2 separate regions of the Homo sapiens genome follow, and region 1 is linked to region 2. The links are contacts of gene promoters, found by promoter capture Hi-C in human tissues and cell types (Jung and others, 2019). All regions are on one chromosome and are shown on one strand. The core of a region is centred on a gene start or on the middle of the fragment in contact, and the rest is flanking DNA. Distances in the headings are between cores, read along the strand shown. Region 1 overlaps SPATA6 (spermatogenesis associated 6). Region 2 holds the start of SPATA6 (spermatogenesis associated 6).

Region 1 (2,792 bases), core at 293-2,792, 170 kb after region 2:
TCATTAGTGTTTTGATAGAGATTGCATTGACTAGATTGCTTTGGGTAGTATAGGCATTTTAACAATATTGATTCTTTCAATCCATGAACATGGAATATCTTTCCATTTTCTTGTGTTCTCCAGTTTCTTTCATCAGTGTTTTATAGTTTTTGTCATAGCAGTCTTTCACTTTTCTGGCTTTTTTTTTTCTTTTAGTATTGGAAATGGGATTGCTTTCTTGATCTCTGTTGCAGATTGTTTACTGTTGGAATATAGAAATGTTGATTATTGCATGTTAATTTTTTATTTTGCAACCTTACTAAATGTGTTTATTCATTTTAATTTTTTGGTGGAGTCTTTATGTTTTTCTAAATAAAACATCATGTTTTCTATGGAAGGGAATAATTTAACTTCTTTTTCAGTTTGGATCCCCTTTATTTCTTTCATTTGCCTAATTGCTCTGGCTAGGACTTCCATTACTATGTTGAATATAAGTGGCGAAAGTGGGCATCTTTGTCCTGTTTCAGATCTTTTTCCCATTCAGTATAATATTAGCTGTGAGTTTGTTGTATATGGCCCTTATCATTTTGAGGTATGTTCCTTCCATGCCCAGTTTATGGAGGGGTTTTATTATGAGTGGATGTTGAATTGTATTGAATGCTTTTTCAGCACCCATTGAAATGATTATACTTTTTTTTTGTTTTAATTCTGTTGATATTATGTATCACATTTATTGATTTGCCCATGATGAACCATCCTTGCATCCCTGGAATGAATACCATTTGATCATGGTGAATGATCTTTTTCATGTGTTTTTGAATTCAATTTTCTAATATTCTGTTGAGGATTTTTGCATCTGTTCATCAGGAATATTAGCCTGTAGTTTATTTTTGTTGTTGTTTTTGTCTGGTTTTGGTACCAGGGTAATGCTAGTCTTATAAAATGGGTTTTCTCATATCTTTAATTTTTTGTAATATTTTGAGTAGACTTCTTATTAGTTCTTCTTTAAATATTTGGTAAAATTCAGCAGTGAAGCCAGAGATCCAGGGCTTTTCTTTTATAGGAGACTTTTTATTACTGTTTCAATATTGTTATTCATTATTGGTCTGTTCAGGTTTTGTATTTGTTCATAGTATAATCTTGGTTTGTAGGTTGTGTGTATCTGGGAAGAAACTTTACAATCTCTAACAGGCCTGGAAGGTCTAATCTATAAAAGTATTTCATTGACCTTGAAGAAGGTCAATTATTTATATAAGAAAATAAACTCAACATTTTATCCATAAAAAATGTAATTCCGGAATTTATGTTAGTAAAATTATAACACTGATAACATAAAAAGTGCTATTAATCCTTAAGAAAGAGTTACCTTTTCTTTTCTATCTTCATCACAGCTAGCCCAGTCTTAGTCTATTTCATTAGCTTCCTATGGGCTTCCTCTCACTTACATGCGTGCTCTCTTGCATGCGCTCGCTCTCTCTCTCTCTCCCACCTTCTTTTTTCCTTAAGACCCTCAAAACTACAGTTGATCCTTTCACTTCAAACTCTTCTGCCTTGTTTCCATTTTCCACAAATGTTCACAGTTAGCCTAATTTTCTACTCCTTGAGGGCAATAGCAGCATGGCATAGTAGAAAGGGTCTTAGAGCACACACGTTGTCTTTTTCATTTTGCCACTTACTAGCTGAGCAGTCTTAGGCAAGTCACTTAACTTCACTGAGTCTTCATTTCTATATCTACCAACTTCTATGTGTTGTAAAATGTATTCATAAATAGATATAAAGTACCTGGTTTAGTGTCTCATATTTAATAACGTCTGTGTTTAAATTTTAAAACAATCCTGTAAAACTAAAGTTAAGGAAGTTGAGACTCTGGATAGTTAAATAAATTGCCCAAGGTCTCACAGCTTATAAAGGACTGAGCTGGAATTCAGTTTCAGGTATGCCTGACTTTTAGCAACTATGCATTCTTTTTTTTTTTTTTTTTTTTTCCGAGACGGAGTTTTGCTCTTGTTGTCCAGGCTGGGGTGCAATGGCGTGATCTCAGCTCACTGCAACCTCTGCCTCCCGGTTTCAAGTGATTCTTCTTCCTCAGCCTCCCGAGTAGCTGGGATTATAGGCAAGCGCCACCATCCTCAGCTAATTTTGTATTTTTTAGTAGATATGGGGTTTCTCCATGTTGGTCTGGCTAGTCTCGAACTCCCGACCTCAGGTGATTTGCTCGTCTCAGCCTCCCAAAGTGCTGGGATTATAGGCGTGAGCCACTGTGCCTTGGGCTGTGCATTCTTATACTGGCCATACCAGGCCAGTATAAGAACTGCTTTTATTATGTTCTGCTTTTATTATGCTGTACCTGTGTCTGTTCTCTGAATTCCTTTTTCACTCTAACACAAAATTTTCATTTTACTGTTTTATAACAGTTTTACACAGATACTTCTGCCTCCCCTTTTAAAATGTCCCTCTTTGAAAGCACAGGCCTTACTCTGTTTTATTTTTCACAGCCCCAGCAGAGAATTAAATAGCCATAGAGTACTCAATAAATATTTGATTTACATAGTACTATCTCTAATTTTGTTTCATTATTGTTTTGAACCTTTTATATCCCTTTTTATAGCTCATGTCAGCAGCCACGTGGCACTTTCCATTTGGATGACGGTGAATACTGGTCCAACAGGGCAGCCTCTTATAAGGGAAAATCCCACCGACCCATCTTTGAGAACAGCATGGACAAGATGTACAGGAACTTATACAAAAAGGCCTGTAGTTCTGCTTCACATACACAGGAAAGCTTCTGAGACCATCCATGATAAACCTCATTA
Region 2 (2,700 bases), core at 139-2,638:
ATAAGAACTCTTATACATAAGCACCAGAAACATAAATAGGTACACTACTTTGGAAAATGGTGTGGTCTTACTTTTTAAAGACCCACATGTGCAAAACCCTAATACCCAGCTAACCCACTCCTACGCTAGTACATGTGCATTAATAGACACAGACTTGTACTACAATGTTCACAACATTGTTAATAATAGCTAAAAATGAAAACAGTGTAAGTGATCATTGATAGTAGGAAGGATAAATCAATCTATATTGGAATACTGTCCAGCAATGGAAAAAACTTCAGCTACACAGCATCACCGGTGGCATAATATTAAGTGGGAGAAGCAAATCACAGAAGAATACATACAGTATTAATACCATTTATATACTATCAATACCGGAAAACATTAAACAATATCTTGTTTAGAAATGCATACATGAATGGCAAAAGGAAGAGAATTATTGTACAAAAGTCAGGGTAGTGGTTACTCCAGGGCGAGAAAGGCAATGTAATCGTTGGGGGCATTTTTCAGGTGCTGGTAATGTTTTATTTCTTAACCGGGTGCTAGTTGTACAGGTACTGTTCACATTATTATTAAGATAAACGTGTTTTATACACTTCTGCATGTATAATGTATTTTGCAATACAAATGATTTTTAACATGATTGGATTGGGCAATCTCTTAGGTTCTTTTTATCTTTGATGGTCTATTGTCAGGCCCTTCACAGCTGGACTTATTGTTGGCACCTCATTGACAGTTCCACTTAAGCAATATGCATTAAGACGCATACATGGGTGAATTAGACAGGAAAATTTGAAGGGAAAAGGGAACGCGCTAACAAAGGGAATCACAGAATAGGAGACTAGGAGTATGGACCATCTGATGCAAGCCCCTCTCCTCAGGGAGGCAACTGGGGTTTAACTTGAGAGCTCCTGGGTTCCAGTCCTGGTTCCGACTTTGATTTGGGCAAGTCTCTTCCCTAATTCCCAGTATCCTTATGCTGGCTTTGTAAACCGTGCCGTGAAATTTAAATAGGAGGACTAACAATAATTATTATTCTTTTACAATTGGGAAAACTGAGGCCACAGTGGGTCGCCACTAGCCCAAGGTGCCATCACCACGTTGTAACTCAGGGGTTCCCTCCGACGGCCTTACAGGAACTCCAACTCCCTGAACAGAGCACCGTCCCATTATACAAACAGCAGCTCCCTTTCGTCCGGCTTTGGGCGCAGTTTGACGTCACAGAAGAGCTGCCTTGCCTCACCCCGCCCCTTCGGAAGCCCCGCCCCCTGCCCGACTCCGCCTCGCTCGGCGTTCGTCAAGCTCCGCCTCCAGCGCTCGTCCCAGCGCGGGTAGCCCTGGAGTGCCCCGCGCGGCCTCTCTTCCGGCCCCGCCCCTCCTGGCTGCCATGACAACGAGTCTGCGCCCCGCGCTCAGCTGCTTCTCCGGCGGAACCCAGGCTGGACCGCGGGCCCCGGCCTGGGGGCCACTGCTGCCACCGCCGCCGCCACCTCGTCTCCTCCCCGTCCCCGCCCAGCCCCAGGTCTCCCCGCCTCACTCGGGCCCGTGGCCGGGGTCACTCCCCGCCGCCCCTCCCCGCACGGATGCCGAAGGTGAAGGCGCTGCAGTGCGCCCTGGCGCTGGAGATCAGCTCAGTGAGTACCGGTAGCGCCTCCCACCCCCGGGCATTGGCTCAGGGACTCCCTCAGTCACCTCCGAGAGCCCGGAACCACCCCCAAACCTCCTTCACCCTCCGAATCATCCCTAGGGAGCGTCGACCTCACGCCCCTTCGGTCCTGCCCCATCTTGTTCTCAGAAGCGCTCTCCCACTCCGGCCACGCAGAGGCCTGACCCCTGCTCCGCTATGCTGGCTTCAACCCGACTTCCAACTTGCGCGCTTTCAGATCGTTCCCAAATCACTTCAGAGTTCTTTCCTCGCTCCTAACTTTCCAGTGAGAGAGAGTGTATGTGCGCGGCGCGGGGGCTTTTCATTCCTCTTTCGGGCTCCAGTTCTCTTAGAGAATTATTGCCCCCGCCTTTCCCAAGTCTGGGGGTGGGCGTCGCATTTCCTCCCGAATCCCTGCAGGCACACCATTTCAGACCAGTTTCAAACCCGCATTAATGAAGGGGCCTTTCTTTATTCTGTCTTCGAAGGAGAATCTTCACATCCAACAACTGAAATGTGTCATTGCGCAAAGTACCTTGCCTTCCCTCCCAGGGCCTTACAGGAAAAACCCAACTCCTCAGAAATCACTTCAGGCCCCTCCCGTCCCCAGACCCTTCCGACTTTGTGCCAGCCATTGCAAGAAAGGCCCAGTCATTTTTATGAGGGAAACACCTCCTTCTCCAACCTTGCAACCCCACCCCTTCACTCTCCAGACTTGCTCAAGAGGATGCTTTCCTCCATCCTCCTGTGGAAGTCCAGCTGGGGCAGAGAACCCCACTCATCCAGTGAAGGGGCTGGACCTCTCCATGCTAGGAGAAAACTCTATTCCCCTTGTTGATCTCAGAAGACTTCCAAGGGTTTTGAACTTCTTCCCCTGCATTCTTTAGAGAACCCTCTCATTCCCCTGTTTAGAGGAATACTCCCGCTTGTCTGTTCTGGAGGAAATCTCCACAAGACCCTTTCCACACCCCGTTTTAGTCCTGCAGGCACAGACCTGTACGGAGTTTGGAACCAAAATTCACCATTCGGTCTCTTCGCTCCTTCTTACTCAGTAA

Evidence for each region. Contacts are between HindIII fragments. The study calls those that stand out against the background at their distance.
Region 1: a fragment that was not itself captured here is called in contact with the fragment with the promoter of SPATA6 in region 2 in 1 of the 25 tissues and cell types used here (IMR-90 fibroblasts).

Annotation. Positions count from the first base shown.
Region 1 is chr1:48,298,689-48,301,480 of GRCh38, reverse strand. It overlaps SPATA6 (spermatogenesis associated 6), which reads left to right. Exons shown (of 13, transcript NM_019073.4): 13 at 2,588-2,792. The coding sequence ends at 2,768. Among named protein-coding and RNA genes, the nearest start is that of SLC5A9, 77 kb to the right of the region's middle. The HindIII fragment of the contact is 3,207 bases long and covers 1-2,792 here.
Region 2 is chr1:48,470,892-48,473,591 of GRCh38, reverse strand. SPATA6 (spermatogenesis associated 6) reads left to right here and starts at 1,388. Exons shown (of 13, transcript NM_019073.4): 1 at 1,388-1,634. The coding sequence starts at 1,584. It overlaps LOC124904175 (a long non-coding RNA gene), which reads right to left. Exons shown (of 2, transcript XR_007066074.1): 1 at 2,640-2,700. RefSeq lists an enhancer at 1,057-1,106 and a silencer at 1,317-1,706. The HindIII fragment of the contact is 25,705 bases long and covers 1-2,700 here.